Linked DNA regions of Homo sapiens: region 1 is linked to region 2. The links are contacts of gene promoters, found by promoter capture Hi-C in human tissues and cell types (Jung and others, 2019). All regions are on one chromosome and are shown on one strand. The core of a region is centred on a gene start or on the middle of the fragment in contact, and the rest is flanking DNA. Distances in the headings are between cores, read along the strand shown. Region 1 overlaps LINC02436 (long intergenic non-protein coding RNA 2436). Region 2 holds the start of HELT (helt bHLH transcription factor).

What was found. The method cuts DNA at HindIII sites, captures the fragments that hold promoters and counts their contacts. A contact is called where the count stands out against the background at its distance.
Region 1: a contact is called between a fragment that was not itself captured here and the fragment with the promoter of HELT in region 2, in 2 of the 25 tissues and cell types used here (H1 embryonic stem cells and pancreas).

Annotation. Positions count from the first base shown.
Region 1 is chr4:185,099,746-185,105,800 of GRCh38, reverse strand. All of the region lies in intron 5 of LINC02436 (long intergenic non-protein coding RNA 2436), which reads right to left. Among named protein-coding and RNA genes, the nearest start is that of SLC25A4, 40 kb to the left of the region's middle. The HindIII fragment of the contact is 6,305 bases long and covers 1-4,572 here.
Region 2 is chr4:185,016,183-185,022,480 of GRCh38, reverse strand. HELT (helt bHLH transcription factor) reads right to left here and starts at 3,991. Exons shown (of 4, transcript NM_001300781.2): 1 at 3,526-3,991; 2 at 2,990-3,094; 3 at 2,638-2,734; 4 at 1,528-2,208. The coding sequence starts at 3,552. The coding sequence ends at 1,709. RefSeq lists enhancers at 433-1,359, 1,360-2,287, 3,002-3,581, 3,582-4,160, 4,161-4,741. The HindIII fragment of the contact is 22,587 bases long and covers 1-6,298 here.

The DNA.
Region 1 (6,055 bases), core at 171-2,670, 86 kb before region 2:
TGTAGGGTTGCAAGAAAAGAAATAATATCCTTTGGACAAAAAAGTACCCCAAGCCAGGTGTGGTGGGGTGTGCCTGTAGTCCAAGCTACTCGGGAGGCTGAGACGGGAAGATCACTTGAAGTCAGGTGTTCAAAGCTGCAGTGAGCCACGATCACACCACTGGACTCCAGCCTGGGTAACAGAGTGAGACCTCATCTCAAAAACAAACAAAAAGTATCTCAATTTATAAAAGCATCTCAATTTGTTGCAGAATATCCACACAAATGAGGAGTATGTTTAAATTTATGTAAATTAGTTTAAGGGAATGCACATTGTAACATTTGTTAAATACTGTCCTGTAACTATTGCTGTTGATTGGATACTCAGCAAAGTGACACTGTTAGACAGGACTAGTGCTTTCCACAGTCCCTCAACAGGTGCTGTAGTTTCAAAATTACCCAAACGTTCTTCTCCATTGGGCAGAAATTATTTTCTGTGTATAACTTTTGGTAACGTAGATGGTCAGAGGTTCCATGTTTCTCAGTGTGGTGGTCACCAGGTGGATTTCATACTACAGCAGGTCCCTGTTTTCTCAACTGCTCTCTTTCCAGAGCTAAAAGCTGACGTGAATCTTGCTCACAACATGTAGAGTGGAAACCCGCTCAAGCACATTCAGTAAAAAGTCAACCAGCCAAGTGAAAGTGGATGAGCAAGAGGGCAGAGGTGAATGACTGAGGGTCTACTAAGAAGTGTTCCCCAGAGACAAATTAACTATCAAGTATTTCTGATGGACTCCCCCAAAGGAGTAAGGAAACTTTGCCAGTATTTACTTTCAATCTGTCAATTTTAGACTATAAGTTATTTCAACATAATTTACTTTGGCAGTTATATCATGTGTGTTTACTTATGTGCCAGAGTTCTGCAGGCAAAAGAATGGCCCAATTCAAGTGACAGCTTTTTAGCTTTAAGATGTTTTCAACAAAATGCTAATACTTTTACCTCTCAGAATAAATAACTCAGTTCCCTCCTTTTGAGGAGACTCAGAATTAGAAAACATTCTGGCTAAATAAAATTGGATCTAGGTCAGCTCTTTCATTTGACAGAGGAGGAAACTGAGGCACAGAGAGGCGAAGTGACTTTTTCCTAAATCTCATGGTTAATTATTGGCAGAACCTGGACCAGAACTCAAGTTTCTTGATTCTCAGTTCATTGCTCTTCTCCACTTAAAATCTGTTTTCCTCAAACATGGCTTTTTACTTCATCATATAAACATTTTCTCAGTTCTACATCTCAGCTCACCCTCACGGGTCCATCCTTTTCTGGTTCCTTTCTACATGCCACCTTTCTGGCAAGCTCTTTCTGGAGTGCAGTGGCATGATCTCAGCTCGCTGAGACCTCTGTCTCGTGGGTTCAAATGATTCTCCTGCCTCAGCCTCCCTAGTAGCTGATATTACAAGTGTGCGCAACCACACCTGGCTAATTTTTGTATTTTTAGTAGAGACGGGGTTTCGACCATGTTGGCCAGGCTGGTCTCGAATTCCTGACCTCAAGTGATCCACCCACCTCTGCCTCCCAAAGTGCTGGGATTACAGGCGTGAACCACCACACCAGCCCCTAGCAAGCTCTTTCTGAAGAGCAGGCTGCTCCTCCCACTCTCTCACTGCCGCTCAGTCCAGTGGCTTGGCTTCTTTGCCCTTGAACTTGCTCTCTCCAAGGTGTCCAGTGACAATGTCCACCCTCCAGTCCTTAGTTTATTTGACTTCTCTGCAACATTAAACTCTACTGTCCACTCACTCCTTCCTAAAACCACGCATTTTTTTCTTCTTGGCTTCTATGATACAATCTCCTGGTTTTCTTCTCTCTCTGGCTTCTCCTTCACGGATTCCTTGATGGGGTCTAGTTTCTCACATCTTAAATGCTTGTATGGCCCAGTTACTCTTCTCATGTATATGTTCTTAGACGTGCTGTCGGGCACATCATGGCTCCAACATCACCTCTGTGAGGATGACTCTCATGCCCACATATCTGGCTCAGACCTCCCTCTATCTCTCCCCGCCCCCACCTTTTTTTTTTTTTTTTTTTTTGAGACAGGGTCTCACTGTTACCCAGGCTACAGTGCAGTGGCACAATCAATCACACAACTCACTGCAGTCTCAAACTCCTGCGATCACGCAATCCTCCCACCTCAGCCTCCCAAGTAGCTGGAACTACAGGTGCACACACCATGCCTGGCTAATTTTTTATGTTTTTGTTTTTTGTAGAGTTGAGATCTCCCTATGTTTCCCAGGCTGGTCTCCAACTCCTGGCCTCCAGCAATTCTCCCACCTGGGCCTCCCAAAGCACTAGGTTTACAGATGTGAGCCACCATGCCCAGCCTCAGACATTTCTTTTGAGTTTCAGCCACATATATCTACTATAAACTTCATCTCAAATTCACCACATTCAAAACCTGTGCCACTTCCTCTACCTTCTGTATCTTAGTGTCTGTACAAATCAGAAAACAAAGTAACCTAGACTCCCATTCTCCCTCAACTCACACTTAACAAGCCACCAAGTAGTACAGAATCTATTGCTTTATCATCTCTCCTGTCTTCTCCCTCGTCTCTACCTTGAGCAGACACTGTTTTGTCTTGCCTGGACTACAGCAGTAGCTTCTTAGCTGCCCTTTCTGCCTCCAGTCTGCCCACCCCTACATATTGCTGGACCCTCAAATACTGCTGGATGTATGACCCTTCTATTTATTTATTTTTTTGAGACAAAGTCTCACTCTGTCACCCAGGCTGGAGTGCAGTGGCGTGATCTTGGCTCACTGCATCCTCCATCTCCTGGCTTCAAGCGATTCTCCTGCCTCAGCCTCCCAAGTAGCTGGGATTACAGGTGTGCACCACCAGGTCCAGCTAATTATTTTTGTTTTTTTTTTTTTGAGACAGAGTCTCGCTCTGTTGCCCAGGCTGGATATTTTTGTATTTTTAGTAGAGACGGGTTTCACCATGTTGGCCAGGCTGGTCTTGAACTCCTGACCTCAGGTGATCCACCTGCCTCGGCCTCCCAAAGTGCTGGGATTACAGGCATGAGCCACAGTGCCCAGCCTGTATGACCCTTCGAAACTGCAAATATGATTAGAACCCTTTGGCATGCATGCCAGGTCTTGCATTCTCTGGGTATGGCCTTCCTCTCCAGCCTCGTCTCCCTTCACCCCCGCACATCCACCTTCCATCTCAGCCTCTCCAAACCACATACAAGCTCTAAGATGCACTGTGCTGTTTCTTGCCTCCAGTTCCCTTCATGTGCTGTTCTTGAAATGCTCCTCCCTTTTTTCTCATTCACTCACACTCATCCTTTAAGTTCAGTCTAAGTGTCGCCTCCTCAGAGAGCCTTCTTGCATTCTTCCATCTGACCTAGATGCCTCCTCTCCTCCCTGACTCTCTCACAGCACCCACTCCATACCCTATTATAATTGTTTCTAAACTGTAAACTCTCAAAGACCGAGTGTATTTTCAGCCTGGTGTATTAATATCGCATTTACAGATTTTACTTGAGTTTTTCCAGTAATGTAGCATATGCATTACAGCACAAGGTGATTATGTGCCCCCAACTTTCTCTGCTTTCCGGAGCTCCCAGGTGAGGGGTCTGGAGGCATGCGCAAGACCATCTACTGCTCAGAGCCGGGAGTTGCAGGTGCCACCTCCTTCCCCTAACCATGCCCCCTGACCTCTCCCTACTCTTGCGAGTGAGCCTCATGGCCAGGCTGCTGCGGAGCCAGGAAATGGGATGTCTGGATGCCCTGCTGCTGGACTGCCACAGCTTCCCAGGCCATCTTCTTGGCCCCTCCCTACCCCCACCCCAATAAGACTGGGTGAGAGGGGAGGTGTTGATGCTCGTTCTGCTGACTGGCCCCTTTGTGGGGAGATGGCTGGCCCCAAGACAAGAGATGGTGGTTCTCTAAGCATAGAAGGTGGGAAACTCAGCATCTTTTCTTTTCTCAGTCAATTCCAGAAGTAACGGTAATAGCCAAATTCTTCTTGTGGGCCAAGAGCAATTTTGAGGGCTTTACATTTAATCCTTGTGGTAACCCTATGACGAATGAATTAACTTTATTATTCTCAAGTGACATATGACGAAATTGAGTGAAAGAATGGTTAAGTAACTTAACAAAGTCATGAGCTAGTAAGTGGCAGCGCAGATTCAAACCAAAGCAGGCTGGTGCCAGAGCCCTTCTGTGTGCCCCCGGGGCTCCACTGCCTGTCTCCTCAACCAGATGTTACAGGGAGGTTCACTGACACCCACGGCGATGGTCCAGAGCACTGCTTGGCAGCCAGGCGTTCCTCCCTGCGCCTCAGTGACCTCATGGGATCATGGTGCTTCTCTTTGCCCCTCATTTAATTTTACCTGCTGGATGTGGTTTTCAAGTTACAACATCTCTTGGTTGGCCCCCCATGGGTTTTTAAAAATATTTCTCTTAGAGTTTAATTATTAGTCATCTGCCCACTATTTATTTGTACTTTTCATGACATTTACTTTCATATGCTTTTACTGCTTTTTTTAATTGATAAAGTAATATGCACTCATGATAAGCTATGCCAATTGCAAAAAGTGGACAGTACGTAGAACAAAGGTATACCTTTTGTTCACAACTTAAATGTGGTAATAAAATGTATGCTTTTTCTGTGACTAATCTAGCCTTGTTTCTAACTCCATCCTCACCTTACCTCTCTGCCACCCCCACCCACAGACTAGCGGCAAAAAATTAAAAAATAATAATAACTCGTGGCTCACACCTGTAATCCCAGCACTTTGGGAGGCCGAGGCAGGCGGATCACGGGGTCTGGCTAACACGGTGAAACCCCGTCTCTATAAAAATACAAAAAATTAGCCAGGCACGGGGGCGGGCGCCTGCAGTCCCAGCTACTCAGGAGGCTGAGGCAGGAGAACGGCGTGAACCCAGGAGTTGGAGCTTGCAGTGAACCAAGATCGAGCCACTGCACTCCAGCCTGGGAGACAGAGCCAGACTCCGTCTCAAAAAATAAATAAATAAATAAATAAATAATAATAACAACTCAGTGTCTGATCTTGGTTAAATCTCAGTCTGCCTGGTAGTTTCAGCTGTGCTTTAGTGGGGAGGGGGGGTTCGGCCTGTCTTGGAGGAAAGGGTCAATCTCCCAGAGAGCTTGTCCTTCACCCTGCTCCTCTCAATGAGGAGAGGCAGGGACGCGGTGCAGCTGTATGGCCTGGAAGCCAACATTCTCGCATCTACTGGGTGTCTGTCTGCTATTCCCTGGCTTCCCCGGCCCCTGGGCAATGCTCTCTAGCCATCAAGGACACCCTGAAGACCCCTGGTGCTGAAGTTGAGTGTGGAGGTCGGGGTCTTGTGTGGGGACAATGCTCCTGGTGGGTCTTCCTGGCTGCCCTGACCTCAGCCAGACTCCTGACAGCCCTGCCACCCTTCTGGGTCTGGGGAAGCCTCCATTCAACCCTACTCAGGTGGTCTTTCTGCAGCCCTCCACAGAGCCAGTTTGCCCTGGCCACAGCAACTGCCCCTGGTCAGCTTCCCAGCCAGGGCTAGTCAGCACAGGGACCCAAGAGCAGCTCAGGAAAGCTAGGCGTGGGTGCTTCTTCCTCTTCATCACAATGCACAACTAAAGCGTGTCTCACCGTGGCTGTGCTGGGTTGGAATGGGACACCCACGAGGCAGTCCTCCCCAGAGCCCCACGAGGCAGTCCTCCCCAGAGCCCCACGAGGCTGTCCTCCCCAGAGCCCCACGAGGCTGTCCTCCCCAGAGCCCCAGGCAGAGCGCTTTGGGAGGGTGCAGCTTCTCTCTCTGCCCTTACTGTTGCTTGCACTTACTTTCTTCACCATCCCTCCTGGATGTATTTAAAAACAAAACAAAGCATGGCCTGTCACTGACTAGAGTGTTATTTTCTTTACTGTGCGAGAGAATCCAACATGTATGAGTCCCGAGGCTTAGGTGCTTGTATACTCAAGGGGCAGATAAAGGAGTCTGAATCTTTTCCTTTTTCTCAGTAAAGCTCTATTTTCAGATATCGGTGATTGAAAGAAAATTGCTTCAGTCCTTCTT
Region 2 (6,298 bases), core at 2,742-5,241:
GTCTCACTCTCACTTCCATGCTCCATCACTTCATAGAAAGGAGAGAGCTCACATTTTATACACAAGTTATTTCAAGAACCTCTCACATGCAAGACCTTTTCTAAAGTTTAAGATTTTCTCCTGGCAAAACATATACGTGTAAGTTTCACTTTACGGGCAATGTAATGAGGGCTTTTTTTTTTTTTTTTTTTTTTTTTTTTTTGCCTGTCTCTGCATAATGAAGTTTGATGGTTTACAAATTGCAGGTCATCCCATTCCATGACCTCAGCAAACAGTCTAGGTCAGAGCTTTCTTAAACCCTGTCCAGAGAAAATAGAATAAGTTAATTTACAGTCCTCCAGCCGATCTGAGAGAAGACAAATCACCACAGTTCAGCGAAATGGCCTCTGGAAACAAAGAGGAAAACGTGCTACCTAATTTCGAATTATTTATTTAAAAGGCATTAAAGTTAATGAGGCACAAAAGTTCAAAGAAAAATTTAAATACCTACAAACACAAACTTAGCCAGTTGGATACATTGTTTATTTTACCTATTTACATGAAACAACGGGGAGCCCTATTTTGCCCTTTGAGTCTTACAGAAACAGGATTTTAGCTTTTGCCGTTGTAGATGCATCGCTGTGGGTAGGGCACAGATGTCCTGGAAGTGAAAATCACAATCCCTTAAAAGACCAATAGCCAAGTCTCTCCTGGATTCCAAACTTTCCTCACCACGTTCTGGGTGGGGCGAGATAAAAAAAAAAATCTCACTGGGGAAAGGATAAGGAGGACTTTTCTCTCCAAGCCTGAGAACTTAAACGGAGACCCCAGGGTCTCCATCCTGCACCAGTGTCCGAATGGTAAAGGATGGCGTGTAGGGAACAATCCCCTAAGGGGTGGGGAAGGGGCGTCTCCCAACCCGGCAGGTGCCGACCTCTCGCCGAGACGCCCAGCGCCCCCGAAGCTGGCCTGCTCTGTGCGCAAAAGGCAACGCCAGCTTCTCGGAAGCCTCTGGCGCTGAGCAGTTGTCATCAACGATGTTGTTTCTAATCCGCAACTCAGAACTGTACTTGGTTCCGGTATTTTTTAGAGGATTTTTAATTCTGTAAACTCAGCCACGCGCCCCGCTGGCCCGGGTTTCGCCGCATTCCAGACCCGCGGGCGTGCGGTGCGCGCGCGTCGGGCACTTGGCTCCGGGTAGGACGGGCGCCCGGGTCGCAGCTGGCAACGGTCCGCCTAAGTCAGTTTGGGGCAGGTCCTTCAATTTGCATTTTCCTGAGAGCCAAGGGCAGTGTTCTTCGCCTCCCCTGTTTCTCTGAGGCTAATGCTCAAGATGGGGCGGGTGCAGGAAGCCGCGAATCCCGCCCTTAAGCGATGCCTAGAATATCTGCCTGAACCTCCATTTAACGTCCCCCTCCCTCAGACTCCACAGCGGGCCCCTCACCAAGTTACTGAGGGCTGTTACCTTGAACCCTGTCAGCCTTGCGCCCTGGGCACCGCGGAGGGGACGGGTGTGGATGAGCAGAAGGTAATACATAAATCCCTCTCTTTGGGTCTTTATCAGAAAACGTTTATTACCAGGGGGAGATCCTTCAGAAGACTCATTCGCTCTTTGCCTCCCCCAGCCCAGATTTTTGGGGTACAATATTTACACATTATGTGTACAATATATACAGCATTTCTCCTAAAAGCGCCCAAAGCGAGGAGAAATCTGGCGGGCGAGTGGGCGTCAGAGCACCGGGGGGTGCTGGGGCGTGTGCAGGTTAAGGGCGTTGGGGTGCGCGTGGCCGATCAGGTTGAGGTAATGCCGGTCCAGGCCCTGCACCGGTGTCAGGAAGGGGCTGTGCTGCTGCGCTGGGCTAGCGAGCGGCACTGGCGCGCTGGGCAGGTAGGGCAGCGCGGGGCTGCGGGCCGCGCCAGGCGGCCAGGGGAAAGGCCCGGCACCAGAGCCCTGCGGGAACACAGCGGCCTCGCCCGGGCTGTGACCAGCGAATTCGGGCCCCGCAGGGTGCAGCTGATAGGAGAAATCCGGCTCCGGGAGCGAACCCAGCGGCGGAAAGGCGGGCTCCGCGCCCAGGCGGGCCTTGGACTGCAAGAAGGCGAGGATGCGCGCGTACTTCGTGTCCTTGGTCTCCATCCGCTCCACCGTGGTGAGGTAATGCACCAGGTTCTTCATGCACTCGTGGTAGCCATAGTGGAAGTAGTTGGCAAACTCCGCTAGAAGTTCTGCTGGAGGAACGAGAAAGCCCGTAGGACGGACACACCCTGAGTGCCCCTTCCCCACGCGAGCCCAAAGCGGGTGCAGGGCACCTCCCACCACATTTTCTGGCCAAAGTTCCCATTTGAGGCCCGCCCTCTCCTCTGCGCAGTCTTAGAGACTGGCGAGGCACGCGCAAACGCCCTCTTTCCCTGAGAGCCTGACCCCACCCACCCCACCCGGGAGAAGGAGGTGGAACCAGCCTCCCTGGGAACCAGTTCTCCCTCGCCGCCTTGCTGTCGCCGAGCAGGGAGAGGCGCCTTCGCAGGACCCCTGCCCTCCTGGAGAGTGGAGCTCTAGTAGAGCTCTCGGGAACACTCAGTCACTCCCCTCCCAGCCCCAGGGTCTCTGGGTGGCGCAGGCGCCTGGCCCAGGCGTCCCATTCCCTAACCTGTGCCCACCTTTTTCCCTTCCCCGGGGAAAATCAGCGGAGTGCAGTGCTCTCAGGTACTGAACGGTCATCTCGAGGATCTCCGCCTTCTCCAGCTTCCCGGAACTCTGCAAAAGGAGGAAGGGCCCCTCGCAGCGGCCCAGCGCCTGCTGGTCGGGCACTGTGGCGCTGGAGAGGACCAGCGAGCGGACGCGGCTGCGGATCTGCGCCAGAGCCTCCTGAGGTTCGCCCTGCGCTCAGGCCCCCCGCCTGGGAGGGGCCCGCAAGTGAGGTCCTCTGTGTCCGCGGGCTCGGGCGTCTCCGCAGAGTGGCCGCAGAGGCCTCCCAACGCCTGGCACCCGGCTCCGGGTCGCCAACGTTACCTGCTTCGCCAAGGCCATGGGCACTGTCTTGCCCAGCTCGTTCAAGCAGCGGTTGATCCTGTCCCTCCTCCGCTTTTCTATCACTTTATGAGAAACGGGGGTTCTCTGCGAAGAGAGGGTTGTATGTTTAGGATGGCTTTGCCCGGGAAGTCGTCAAAGGCGCGGCTCTAGCAGCTGGGTGCAAGCCGCCTCTCCAGCCGCGCACACTGCTCAGATTCGCTCTAGGAAGGGACTCCTGGCCCGCCACGCTCGGGCCAGGTGAGCTCTGCCTTCTGACGCCCGCGCTGGCGCGCTCCCCTTCCAGCCACCCTACCCAGGCCTTTGGGGAGGTGGCCGCCAGCCTCCAGGCAGGACTTCTACCTGGTTGAGCACCCTCCTCTCTCTACCCCACCCCCTTCCCAAACCACTCGAGATTCCTCCACACTCAAAGTCCCGTGCGGGCACTTCCCTGCCATCGGTCCACCCAAGTGGCGGGTCGGTGAGTCAGATGCCTCCACCACCAGGGCGCAAGTGCCATTTGGGCTCAGCCGACTCACTTTGCGTTCCTTGAGCTTGTCTGACATCCTGGTCAGTACGCGCCCTCGGGAGAGGCGGTGGCGCGGGGCACCCGTCCACTTTTCCGCCTCGTGTGCCTCCTCGAGTGTCCCAGGTAGACTGCAGCCTCCCAACTCCGAGGGCTGCCTTATAAAGCGGTCATCTAGGGCTCCAGATGCATTCACGAGTTGAATTATTCCATAGGATTAGGGGAGCTGCGTTTGGAGGATGTATGCATTCAAGATCAGTTTTAAAGAAGTTAAGAAAAAAAAAAAATTAGCAGCCGAGGGGGGCGAGCTGGGGGCAGATCAGCTTTGTTAATCCACGTGGCCCTTCAAAGGACACGTGATCGGCCCAGGAATAACATTTGCATGGCAACAGCTCGGGCGGGAAAAGGAGGCGGTAAACTGGGGCCGGCGGGCGAGCAAGCGCCTGCAGCAGTCGCGGGCGCGGAGCGCAGGGGCGCAGCGGCCGCGGGCACCGGGGGGCGAGGACCCTCACAAAACAGTGTCGCCTCTTTTAGTCCCACCGCTGAGTCTCACATGATCGCCTGTTTACAAATCCCAGCAAGCCCGCCGTCCCAGCGCCGAGTGCGTTTTAAAGCCTGTCCAGAGTCATTAAAGTAATTAAGTAAGCCTTTAATAGGCTGTTCCGCCGGGTTCAAGGGAGAGCTCTTGGAGACGGAGGCGCCCCGTTTGTTCCCAGGCTTTTCTCACACGACTTGGTGACACGTCCTTCTCCCCCCTTTTTGTTTACACCGCTTTATTTGTCCGGACATCCCGGCAGGTGTGGGGCTGCGGCTGGCACACGAGGCTCCCGCCTCGCCTCGCCTCGCCCCTCCCGCCGCTGTTTGGCACGCGACGCTCCCCCCTACTCCCTGACCACGTCGCTGGCTTTCTTTTCTCCCCACCCCTCCTGCTCCCTCTTCGCGGGGGGAAGAGGCTCAATTTGTAGCCTATTATCCTATACGAAAATGTCCATTGAAAAGTATGAATAGTTTCATTGGGCTAAATTTTAATAATGCCAGAGGGTGGGGGAGGAGAGACTGGCGGGCGTGTGTGTGTGTTTGTGTGTGAAGGGGCGGGTGGGAGGATTGGGGGGCAACACGGAGAAGAGTGGGCCGAGAAGAAAAGGGGGAATGCAGCTGGCCCAGGCAAGCATTATGCAACGTCACCTGCGAGAGGGGGCGCCTACAGACCCCTATTCATTTGCCTAATTTTGGTCAATTTAACAAACTTCAGGAGAAATTATTGTGGCTTTGTCAGGGAGGGTGAAGCCTTCTGATCGAATTAACAGCATGTTTTGATCCGGTAAATGTCATTAGAAAGGGAGAAACAATCGCGCTTAGAGGGCTCTGAGTAATGCGCCCAAGTGGAGACGCCAAAGCGCACGGCTCACAAAGGGAGCAAGTAGCTGCCACAGGGAACTTTTGTACCCGCCCATCGCCCAAGTTTTGACACAAAAAGGCATTATTTCATACTTGAATACGTTTAATCCAACGATTGTCTATTTTCTGCAAACATATTTTCACAGCATTGTTAACTTTTTATGTCTCCCTTTCGCTGGCGTCTTTTCTTAACGTTTGGGGGCGGGAGAGCGCAGACACTTTGGGCATCAATATTTGTCACTGAAAAGGGCCCTGTGAAGTTTGGGAAGTTGATCTCTTTTTTATGGTTTTAGAAAGCGAAAATATCGGGGGGAGGAGGAGGGAGGGAAGGCACGAACAGAAACGAGGGAGGAAATTTGCTGGACGGGCCCAAGGGGAAGGAGGGGGGCGGCGGCGGCTGGGAACTCTCTTGGCCGCCTGCGCCTCTGAGGGCAACCTGGCCCCGCGGCCAGAGGCCACCTCCCCCAGGACGGGCCTCGCTCACACTTGCTGCCTCGGATCCTATACTCTGGGGGCTCTGAGCTTGTGGGGTGTGGGTGGGGGGTGAGCTTTCTTGCAGATTGAAACGATAAAAATGATTTTTGTTTTATGGCCCTTTCTAGAGCCACCGAACTCTCACCTCTCTAATCTTTTCCATCTGGGAACAGCTGAGACCGCTTCTCAGATTTTTCTTCTTTTCTGCCTGCCCCTAACCCTGCCTAAATTCTCTCTGTTCTGCAGGGAGATGGCAGGGCCCAGCGCCCCCCTTGGGGTCGTTAGACCTTGGCAGGGGTGGGTAGGCGGCGCTCTTCTAGCTGGTGGGACCTGGGAGCCTCAGGGCGCAGAGCCAGGCCTGGGGTGCCAGGCCTCGGGGAAGCCATCGGCCCACCTGCTGCGGCCTGGGAGATGTGAGGGCTCGGTCTGCACCTCGCACCCCTAGGGTGTCCCTCTCGGTCCTGCCTCTAGTCTCCTCACGATGTTTCCTTTCTGCTTCACGCCAGATTGGACACGATCCGCACCCTCCCAGGTTGCTCTGCCAGCCGCGAGTGCCCTCTCAGGGGTTGTCGATTTCAGGATATTCACTCGCACACAAAGAGATTAAACGCGAACCCTTATCATCCAAATTAACTAACGTGAATGGGTAAAAAGGAGCGCGCACACTTCGCACTCCCACTCCCATTTTTAAGCCAGCGGCCCGGGCGTTGATCCTCTTACTGCCGGTGTTAACCGCCAGCTGCAGGCACCTTCCACGGACCACATTTCATTCCATGCACACTGTTTAATTTCCCGGGTTTGGTCTCGGCGCTTGGCTCAAGGCTTGCCCAGGGCTAAAAGTACCCGCGTGCAGGTGAGGGGGCAAGGGAAGGCCGGTGAGTGGAGACTTGGGCTCAGGGGCGCAGCCTCGCCCG